Linked DNA regions of Homo sapiens: region 2 is linked to region 1. Evidence: promoter capture Hi-C in human tissues and cell types (Jung and others, 2019). All regions are on one chromosome and are shown on one strand. The core of a region is centred on a gene start or on the middle of the fragment in contact, and the rest is flanking DNA. Distances in the headings are between cores, read along the strand shown. Region 1 has its middle 14 kb from the start of ALAS1. Region 2 holds the start of TNNC1 (troponin C1, slow skeletal and cardiac type).

Evidence for each region. Contacts are between HindIII fragments. The study calls those that stand out against the background at their distance.
Region 2: the fragment with the promoter of TNNC1 here is called in contact with a fragment that was not itself captured in region 1 in 2 of the 25 tissues and cell types used here (small bowel and spleen).

Annotation. Positions count from the first base shown.
Region 1 is chr3:52,181,872-52,187,133 of GRCh38, reverse strand. No RefSeq gene overlaps it. Among named protein-coding and RNA genes, the nearest start is that of ALAS1, 14 kb to the left of the region's middle. RefSeq lists an enhancer at 1,780-2,615. The HindIII fragment of the contact is 5,026 bases long and covers 1,037-5,262 here.
Region 2 is chr3:52,452,174-52,457,119 of GRCh38, reverse strand. It overlaps TNNC1 (troponin C1, slow skeletal and cardiac type), which reads left to right and starts at 3,079. Exons shown (of 6, transcript NM_003280.3): 1 at 3,079-3,128; 2 at 4,607-4,637; 3 at 4,868-4,946. The coding sequence starts at 3,105. It overlaps NISCH (nischarin), which reads right to left and starts at 1,516. Exons shown (of 21, transcript NM_007184.4): 1 at 1,386-1,516. The coding sequence starts at 1,478. RefSeq lists enhancers at 1-537, 4,217-4,946 and a silencer at 1,362-1,591. The HindIII fragment of the contact is 8,260 bases long and covers 1-4,946 here.

The DNA.
Region 1 (5,262 bases), core at 2,300-4,799:
CTCGTGATCCCCGTCTCGGCCTCCCAAAGTGCTGGGATTACAGGGGTGAGCCACCGCGCCCGGCCAGGTCAGAATCTTTTATTCCAACTTTATGTTTTTTTTTCTTTTTCTCTCCTCTTGAATTGAGTGTGTTCTTGTGAGTGGCCTCAGATCCTTGATGGAGTGAGGCAGCTTCCAGGAAATGGATCAATAGGCTTTTTTTATTCAGCAAATACTTACTGTGTACCTACTGTTTGCCTAGTGTTGAACTAGGTTCCGGGATGGCAGCTATGAACAAGGTAGATGTAGTCCCTATTCTCGCGGAGTGGACACTTTGGTGGGGGAGACAGATGTCCAGAAGGACACGCCATCCAGACACATAATCTTGTGAGGGTGAGAGCTCACATGGTGCTCTGAGTGACAAGGACAGTGGCTGCTCTGTTTGGAGGCTTGGAGAGGCCTCTCTGAGGAGAGGATGTTTAGGGTGAGTCCTGAAGGAGAAGGAGCCAAGCTGGCGATGATTTGGGGTGGAGGAGGCCAGGAGCTGACCAGTGCCCCAGGCTGGGGGATCTAGTGCAACACTCTTGGTCACCTCCAGCTCTGGCCACTATGCTTTGGAATATGGGAGGGTTGGAAATAATCACCCATCCATGCCCAGTGCCAAGGAGGTGCTGGATAGATCTAATTATGATTACTATTATCATGACTGAAATGTGAGCAAGGAGGCATGGCAGAGAAGTTGGGGGGATATGGGGAGCCTTGGAAGCTGGGCTCCAGGCCCCCTTGGGAGGGGGCAATGCGGAGGAGCTGGAAGGCCATAGTCCTCCAAGCCTTCAGGGAACTTACATTATCTGGTGTAGCTGGTGGGAAGGGGGCATGGGGGCAGCTAAGGCAATCTGGGCCCAACTGAGGGGGCCCTGAGAACCATCCAAGGGATGGGTCTTGTTCTGTAGGCTTTGGGATTAGAAGACAGCTCTGAAGCCTTGGGACTCAACCCCGACTCATTAGGTGCCAGATCCAGCCTGGGGTTGGGGGAAGGCAGCCACAGTGTTTACCCAATCTCCAAAGCCCATCCAGCTTGATGCAGTGGCCTGGTTGTGACACCCCTCAGTGCTTCCCCCTAGCTAACGGCCATCAGCCCACTCAGCCTCCAGGTTCCTCTTTGCTGAGCTACTCACACCGGGGTCCACTGGGACTGTGCCTTCATTTCTCTGACCTGGGGAGTTGGAGAAGTTCAGCAGGGCTGGTGGCTCACAAGAGGTACCCAATGAGCATTTGTTGAATGAATGAATGAACATATGAATAAATGCATGAATGAATGGAGTGGGTAAATAAATGAGGATTATCTGTGAACTATGTGCAAGTGAGTGTGTGTGGGTGGGTCCTTAGGCCCCAGAGATAGGGCCGTTTGTGGGCCCAGAGATGGGGCCATTTGTGGGCAGGTTGTGTCAGCAAAGAGGTGAGTGTGGAAAGCTAGGGTCAGATGGCTGGTCAGCAGATGGCCTGGAGAAGGCCAGGGGAAATGGAGCAAGGCCATTTACTAGGGGCCCAGTTGAGCATCTTCAGGAGCCTTCCTTGGGGAGATCTGTAAGTGTCCATGTCCCGACACTCTGCCACTCCACTGCCACCCATGCATACGCAAGCTCCCATGGGCCCTCCCGGGTGTCTATGTCATCCTCTCCAATGGCTCTCCCTAAGCTCACCCTGGGATAGGCCACCTCTGATCTCAGCCTGGTCTGTGGACGGTGTGGTCAGGAGTCAACTGAAGCCCCTTGAAGCTCAGCTGGGGTGGAGGCTGCAGTCAGACCCTCGTTCCCCCTCCTGGTCCCTCTCCCGCTCTCTTCCTTGACCACCACCTCAGAAGATGACCATAGCTGTGCAGCAGAAGGGCTCTCACTCTATATTTGTGTAACAACATCTAGAAAATAGTTTTCCACAGCCTGCCTGTGTCTTAGCAGACAGAAGACTGCTGGCCACTCTGAAGTGACATTTCAAGTTTGGAAGTTCTTAGGGCCTAGTGTCTGGCAGCGTGGTCTGCTGGTCACATTCCTACGTGCACACCCTGAAGGTCTCTCAAATACATGCAGAATCCCAGGCCCACAGCTGCCCAGGGTCACAAACACCCTTTCACACATGGCCACATGGCCAACCACTCTGGTCATAGGGATAGCAGCACCTTGTGACAGTTAGATACATGGTGTAGTCACAGCGTGCCTCGGGGGCTGTGACCTTGTCACAGAGGCACACATGTGCAGCCATGGTGTGCCATGATTGGGACGTCATCATACATAGGGTCACACACACGGGCTGAGCTGTGCAGGGCCGCAGGGTTGCTCTGCTTCACCCCTCACCTCCACCTCCCTACCGCAAGTGCAGCCTGGCTCCCTGGGATCGTGATCCCTTCCCCTGCGCTCATTCCTGATGAAGTCAGGACTATCAAGAGCCCCTGACTGGCCCTCCCTCTGCCTGCCTCCTCTGTGGCCATCCTGCTCAGGTCTGTCCCGATGGCTCTGTACACCCCTGAGAACTATTAAACTGACCAGAGCGTGGACCAGGGAGATCCCAAGGGCATGAGAGCCAAGCTGTGTGACCATAACAGTCATGTCTTGTTTCTGGACCTCAGATTCTCCACCTGTTTTTAAAAAAAATGTTATTGATGTATAATAGTTGTACATATTCTCCATCTGTTAATACAGGCATAGACCTGGTGGTTTCAAGGCTCTTCTGGCACCCGTGATGAGGAAAGCTGTGATTCTGTGGCCCCTCTGGCATTTCCTGGACCTTCGGGCTTCTGAGTCTATTTGAACTTCATGGCCAGGTGCCTCTCACTAATGAAAGGGCCTCCACTGAGATTTCCTTGGGAACAAAGGAGAGCTCAGTTGTTCTTGAGGCCTCAAAGGGGCCCCTGAGGCAGGCCTGATGCCCGGCTGTGTGCAAGGACCAGAGGAGTGGCTGCCCAGCCTGGAGGCAGGTGCTGGCTGGACTGACCTCCTGGGACCCACTTAAGCTTTCTACAAACAACACATCATCTGGGCTGAGTGGGGGGTTCTCGGGGCAAAAAAAAAAAAAAAAGTCTTCTACGGAAGCTGCCTTGTGACTTGGCCCTGAGCTCAGGCAGGGTGGGGACCCTGAGCACCAGAGAGGTCATTGTTCCGTGAAAGCCAAGGCGGCAACCCCTCCCTCTTCCCCTTCTTGTGCTTGGAACCTCCAGACCCCTGGACTCCCAGGGGAGCCCAGGGAGTCAGTGTATGAGGTGCTGAAGCCAAGTCCTTCCAGAGCTTGGGGGAAGGTCAGTTGGTTTATAAATCACCTGAATTTCATCAGGGTCACCATGGGGGAGCTTCATGCATTTTTCAAAGGGCAGTTGTTGGGTGGTCACTCTGTGTTAGGCGCAGTGTAGGAGCCTGGAGAAATAAACCAAAATGTACCTGAAGTAGCATTTTTCAGTGTGGTCTATGTTCATGAAGTGGTCTCTGGAAAAAATATTCCATAGTCAAGTAAGTTAAGAAAGGGTATTATATAATTCACTTGGCCTGAGCAAAGGTGACCTGGTTTCTTTTTCGTGGGATTTGGAGAAGCTTTAAAAGGCAGTGTGTTTAGGCTGGGCTTGGTGGCTCAAGCCTGTAATCCCAGCGCTTTGGGAGGCCGAGGTGGGTGGATCGCCTAAGGTCAGGAGTTCAAGACCAGCCTGGCCAACATGGTGAAACCCATCTCTACTAAAAATACAAAAATTAGCTGAGCATGTGATGGCGGGCGCCTGTAATCCCAGCTACTCAGGAGGCTGAGGCAGGAGAATCGCTTGAACCTGGGAGGCAGAGGTTGCAGTGAGCCAAGATGGCGCTACTGTACTCCAGCCTGGGTGACAGAGCAAGACTCAGTCTCAAAAAAGAGAGAAAAAACAAAAAAAAAGCTGTGTGTTGAGAGAACTTAGGGGGTGTGAGTGCAGGAGCCTCATTTCCCACATGCAGCTGACCACAGAACTCATTCTGCTCATAGCAGCTATCTGGTGGGGTCTGGTGGGGTTGGAGTTCTCCAGGAGCCCTGCAGCAAGGCTGCTGGAGGGGTATAAGCCATCCCTGGAGGGCTCCTGTGACGCCATCTCTGTGCCCTGCCCCTGGTGTCCTGATTTAGCAGGGCGCCTGAGAATCTGCATTTCTGCAAGTTCTCAGGTGCTGCTGTTGGACCACACTTGGAAAACCACTGATCTATCTCAGAGCAGCCAGAGTGATCTTTTAAAAGCTAAGCTGCGTGAAGTTCCTTCTCTGCTCAAAGCACCCCCAGGGCTCACTGTCACTCAAGGTAGAAGCCAAGTTCTTACAGGAGTCCACAAGGCCCACCGACCTCTTTGACATTCACTCACAACTCACTTTTCTGTCCCTTAAACCCACCCTGCAAATCCTCAAGAGCACCTCAGGCCTTTGCTCCCTTCTGCCCATAATGGTCCTGCCCCAGATGTTGGTGGGGCAACCTGTTCCCATCCCCCAATTCCTCCACCCCTACTCTTGTACCCCTGCCTGCCCTGGCAGGGCAGCCTGTTGGTCACATTCATAGATGCACGCCCTGAATATCTCTCAGATACACATAATCTCAGGCCCACAGGTGCCCAGAGTCACAAACACCTAAGCAGCTGGGCTCTCACACAGGAGGACACAGAGGGGGCTTTCTGGTCCCATATACATCTAGCACCTCGGGAAGGGGTTGAGAGGGAGCTGAGGTGTCCAGGCTGGGGCACAGGGGAGTGACTCTGTGGGCAGCTGTGTGCTCTGTCACTGGTTCCATGAACCTTATCAGCGCTGCCCTCATCCTAACCCCGGAGCACTCTGTGTTCTTGATGCATCTGCACAGAGGTCACGGCAGCACAGATGAACTTAGCTCACCCAGCTGCCCACAGTGACCCCGATAAGCTTGCAAGGCATCCTGTGGCAGAAACCAGAAGGTTCTGAGTTGGGCAGGAAATAGGGCCAAGCCTGTCTTCTCCACCCCAACCTCCATTGGCCCTGACCTGGCTTGGGGATGACCCTGGTGGGTAGCTGGGGGGGAAAGGTTTAGCTTAGGCCTGTCTGACTGCCAGATGCATGGGTGTTATGGAGAGGGGATGGGGGAATGTCAGACTTGGCTCTGACCTTCTCCTCTGTTGAGTGGGGAATGGCTGCCTATAATCTTCACTGGGGTCCCTGGGGCCTGTCTGATTCTATGTCCTGACCCCTCTGCCCTGTGGGTGGGTGTGCTGGTGGCATACAGAGTCTGCCACCCCATCGAGCCAAGGCTGTGGGTCTGAGTAGC
Region 2 (4,946 bases), core at 1,830-4,329, 270 kb before region 1:
AATCAAGGACCAAGTAAGGCAATGCATGTAAAATGCTTTGTACATGGGCCTGACCCATGGCAAGTGTTCAAAAGGTAGGTGTGTTAATAATGTCCAACTCGGCACACCCGGAGACAGAGGATGGTAGGGTCCAAACTAGATCACCACCTCCCCCGACATACATGCAGAGGAGGGGCGCAGTCCAGAATAGGGTGAGCTTTTTGAAGATGGCCCTCTGGCTGAATGTGCCCATAGCTGATGGCCAGTCAGCCATCAGCTTAGAGACCTCACCCGCCTCCTGCACCTAGTTTCCCCCTCCTCTCTGCAGCATGGAGCTGAAGCCTCCTCCAGCCCTGAGGAGCAGCCATTTCTCCAGGCTGGCCTGTTGCTTCAAGATCCACCCCTCTCCTCTTCCCATCCTGCCTGATTCCTTCCCCTTGCCTTCAGGAAAGGAGAAAAGAGCCAGAAGAATGGCCCTCAGAGCGGAAGGTTAGGATGAGGGCCAGGGAGGGGAGGTGCAGGCAGGCCCAAGGCCCCCACCCACTCCCTACCCTGCGGGAACAAAGGGGAGGAGGCAGGGAGGTGCTCTATGCCTAGTCCAGGGCCGGTTTTTGCCAGGCAGCCCACCAGGCTCACAGGCCTGGCATCCAACCCCGTCAAAGTCGGGAACTACCCGCTATTTGTCCTCTGTCTCCCCCATAGCTTAGAAGTGTGTGTGGGCAGCTTGTTGCCCCATCTCGCTCCCACAGCCCAAAGTCACGAAGATTCCTAAGGCTTATAGGGCCTGCGCTTTAGCACTGAGACCACCCCCATTTCTCCATAGATGGGCTCCACCCCTCCTCCGGTCTTGTCTCCGCCCGACCCCCAAGGCATCTGCTCCCCAGGTCTCTCCTGCACTTCTCAGAGAAAATCTCAACCACCACCTCAGGCTCCCCAGATCAGGGTCCTGACGCCTTCTCTTTCTTCAAGGCCTGCGAAGCCTGACCCTTTTCCCTGATTCCATCCATCAGAGACCCTCTCCCCATCGCCTTCCTCCTGGACCCCTGTAACGGTCTTCCAGGCCGGGGCCCCTCCAGTCCTAGAGGATCTAGAGGGGTTCCGCCTCATCTAGACACCCCCCTCCCCAAGCCCCCTTTATCCCCAGATGCCGCCCCCAACCCGAGCCTCCCTTTCTGATCGCGTACCCTTTTCCAAACCGCCTCCCCGGGCCCCGAGCAACCCTTCTCCCGGACCTGCGGGGCCCAGATCCCTTTCCTAGATCCCCCGTCCCAGCCCCCTCCTCGCAATCGCAGACCCTTCTACCCGCTCCTCGGGGCTGCAGATCCCGGACCCCTCCCCAAGCCCCCGAGTCGGACTCCCGGTTCCAGCCACCACCCCCGCTTCGGGTGCCCGCGCCCCCAACACACCGTATAAGTGTCCACAAGCTCCGAGCCCACGACGCGCGCTTCCTTGGCCGGCTCGGCTTCCCGCTCGGGCCCGAAGGTGCGCGCGGTCGCCATGTTCGGGTCTCCGCCGCCACCGCCGCCCGGCGCAGACTAGCAGCAGCAGGGGGCGGGGTCAACGTCCCACCGCCCCCCGGCCCCCGCCGCCCGTCGCCCCCGCCGCGCGCTGCGCCGCCATCTTGGCCCCGCCTTCTTCCTGCGCCCTCGCCCCGCCCCCGCGCGTGACTGACAGGGGCCACTCAGGGCGCGCGTGCGAGGTGCTCGCTTGCGTAATCTACCTGCGTGGCGCCGCCGGCGGTACCCTGCACAGCCTGCTAGAAACTGAGACCCCGGGTGGTGACAGCTCTGGGCATCGCCCCTGGGTCCTCGGGAAGAGGGGACAGAAGGTCCCGAGTCTCCCAGGCCACACGAAGCAAGTCACTGCTCTTCCTGGCCTCAGTTTACTCCTCCTGATAAAGGAGGCCATAATAGTGCCTCACCTGGCTGTTGGGCTCTTTCTCTTTAGGGCAAGGCAGGTTGGAGGGGAAAATAGGACCTGTGCTTACCGCCGGAGCAGGGCGAGAGTGATTCTGGGCCAGTTCTGAACCTCTCTGAGATTCGGAGATCTCTTGTCAGTGGGGCTTCTGGACAACTGAGTGGGTTGATTGATGCGCGGCCCAGCACGCAGTAGTGCTCGAGGCAGGGAGCGTGTTTATCAAGAGGGATAAACTTGATACGAACTCTGTACGAAGGAAGGTGTAGGTGGATGGAGGGGTGTGTGCTGCCACTGAGCACAAGAACCCCACGGGGTGGCCTGCCAAAGTTCAAAACGAGGGAGACAGGTTGATCTGGACCCAGGAACTACAGTGCTGAATCCTAAACCGGGGAAAGATGAGACCTAGAAGAGGGAGGTGGTAACCTAATTGGAGGGTGAGGAGGGAAAGAGCCTGCCACAGATGGGGCATCTATAGGGGTGCTGTTGAATAACTGAGAGCAGCTGACTTAAGCCCGAAGTGGGTACTTCTCCCTGGGCAGATGGGAGGTCTGGGACAGGCTCCTCTGGCAGAAGGGCTCCTGGCCACCCTGTCCTAAGGTGGGTCAGTCACTTCCTCCTTCACCAGTTCCACAGCATCTTACTATGAGCTTGGCATTCGAGGCTTCTCTTGGCAGGGCCCTGCACTCCTAGCCTCTCCTTGCACATTGCACCCCCATTCCAGAGAGGTTTAGTTAAAGGCGGGGGTTACCAAGTCAGTCAGATCTTGGGCAAGTCACCACTCCTCCAGAGCCTCAGTTTCCTTATCTGGAAAGTGGAGGTCATGGCAACCCGCCAACCTGGTTGGATGGGAGCCTGAGCTGTTGTGTTGCACCTTGCCTGGGGCCCACGACTTTGTAGCTCCTGTCCTGCACTGGGCTTATGTTTTCATTCATTCCAGAAACCTTTTCAGAGAGTCCCTTTGGGGAGTGTGGGGGACAGGAGGGAAAGAAACCTGGTCCTTGTAGCCGTTCGTCTGCTCCCTGCCCTGGGCAGAGGACGTGGGGACTCAGGCCAGCCTGAGATCACTGGGACCAGAGGAGGGGCTGGAGGATACTACACGCAGGGGTGGGCTGGGCTGGGCTGGGCTGGGCCAGGAATGCAGCGGGGCAGGGCTATTTAAGTCAAGGGCCGGCTGGCAACCCCAGCAAGCTGTCCTGTGAGCCGCCAGCATGGATGACATCTACAAGGCTGCGGTGAGGGACAGGGCTGGGTAGGGCTGGGGTGGGCAGGCCCACTGGGGGCTCACTCAGCTGAGAGTGCGGGGTTAGTAGCCCCAGGGAAGTGGTGGGGACCAAGGAGAAGGCCTACGTGCCTTCAACCCAGGCCCTCACAGGGACAGTGATTCTGGTGTTTGAGGATGCAGAAGGGGTAGGGGGTTCCGGGTCTGAAGGGTGGTGGAGGAGGTTGCAGCTTTCAGCATCGTGTCTCACTCTCTGTTTCCAAGTGTCTGTGGTCTGTGGCACTGTCGCTCAGCCACATGTCTCTGCATTTGTCTCTGGACGTTTTTGCCTTTCTCTTTTCATCTCTTCCTCCTGAGCTGTCTGAGTCCCCATTACTGTCTCCCTGTCCCCAACCCCCATTTCTGCCCCTCACATTCTGCTTCTCACATGCTCAAAATCTGCCACCCCACTCCAGCCCCTTGGCGGGCCGAAGATGCTTTGGAGGGTGGAGGGTGTGAGAGGAGGGGTCTGTAGAGCCTGAGTCCTGGGCTGGAGATGGGGCTTTGAAGTTTGAGGCAGGGAAGTTCTGGACATGAGGGAGAACCAAGGAAGAAGGAACAGAGAACTGGGGCCCCAGCTCCCATCATGCCTGGCAGGCTCAGGGCTCAGTGGCTTAGCTAGGGGTGAGAGCGAGGGAATGAGGGCTGGAGAGTGGTCACCCCAAGCCCCTGCAACCTCCTGGGTCACTGAGGGTCTTCAGATGCTATTCTATCCTGGGTGGTGGTGACCTCCCCCAACCCCAGAGCAAGGACATCCTGGCATGGCCAGCTGTCCCCAGGGGAACCCCTCCCTCAGCCTCCCTCACTCCTGGGCAGGGAAGTGCTATAGCCAGCTCTGGGGGCACGCCTGCTTATCCTGTGGGAGTCCATGGAGCCGGGGTTGGGACAGCCCTCCACCCAGTGCCCATACAAGGCCTGGCGGAGTTGGGGACTAATTTTGGCTTCTGAGGCGGCACTAGCAGGCCAGGGGGCCAGATAACGCTGCCCCACCCCCTGCATGCCAAAGTCCCCAGAACAATCACCAGGTTTAACTTTGTTCCTCGTTAAAAATAGCCCAGTGGCCACCCTGGTCAGGTTACCGTGGGTGGCTTGCCTGCCTCCACACTGGTTTTATTATCCCAACTTGAGGGACAGCTGTCCTTCGGGCCACCCAGCTTGAGTTTCATCAGGGGCCGAAAGGGCATTGAGTGGTCACTGACTATTGTTACTGAGGGTCACCTTGGTCCTGAAGGGGGTGCCCACCTGTCACCCTGGCCCTGAGCCCAGTCGCAGTGAGGCCAGCTGGGTCACGTCAGGGCTTTGGGGGCAGGGAGGGAGGACTGAGACCTCCACTCTGTGGCCTGGAAATAGCCTGCCTCCTCCAGCTCCAGCCTTCTCACCTGTGGAATGGGTTGGTTTCCTCAGCAGCAGCTATACCTGAGTCTGAGCCTTGAGATTCCCTTTCCTTTCTAGGTAGAGCAGCTGACAGAAGAGCAGAAAAATGGTGAGAATCCCTATCACACATGTGGGAGACCAGCGGGTCCAGGCTGGCATGGGGACCCCTTATCAGAAGAGGACCCCAGGCCAGAGACCAGAGGCTTGGTCCCTCTTGCTCTGCCCTCAGAGAGGTCTCCGAGGGAGGTGGGCAGGTTGGCAGGTGGCCCCAGGGTTCTGGCCCTCCGTGGTCCTGGCTGCTGAGCCCTGACTACTGTGCCCCCCAACCCCTGAACACAGAGTTCAAGGCAGCCTTCGACATCTTCGTGCTGGGCGCTGAGGATGGCTGCATCAGCACCAAGGAGCTGGGCAAGGTGAT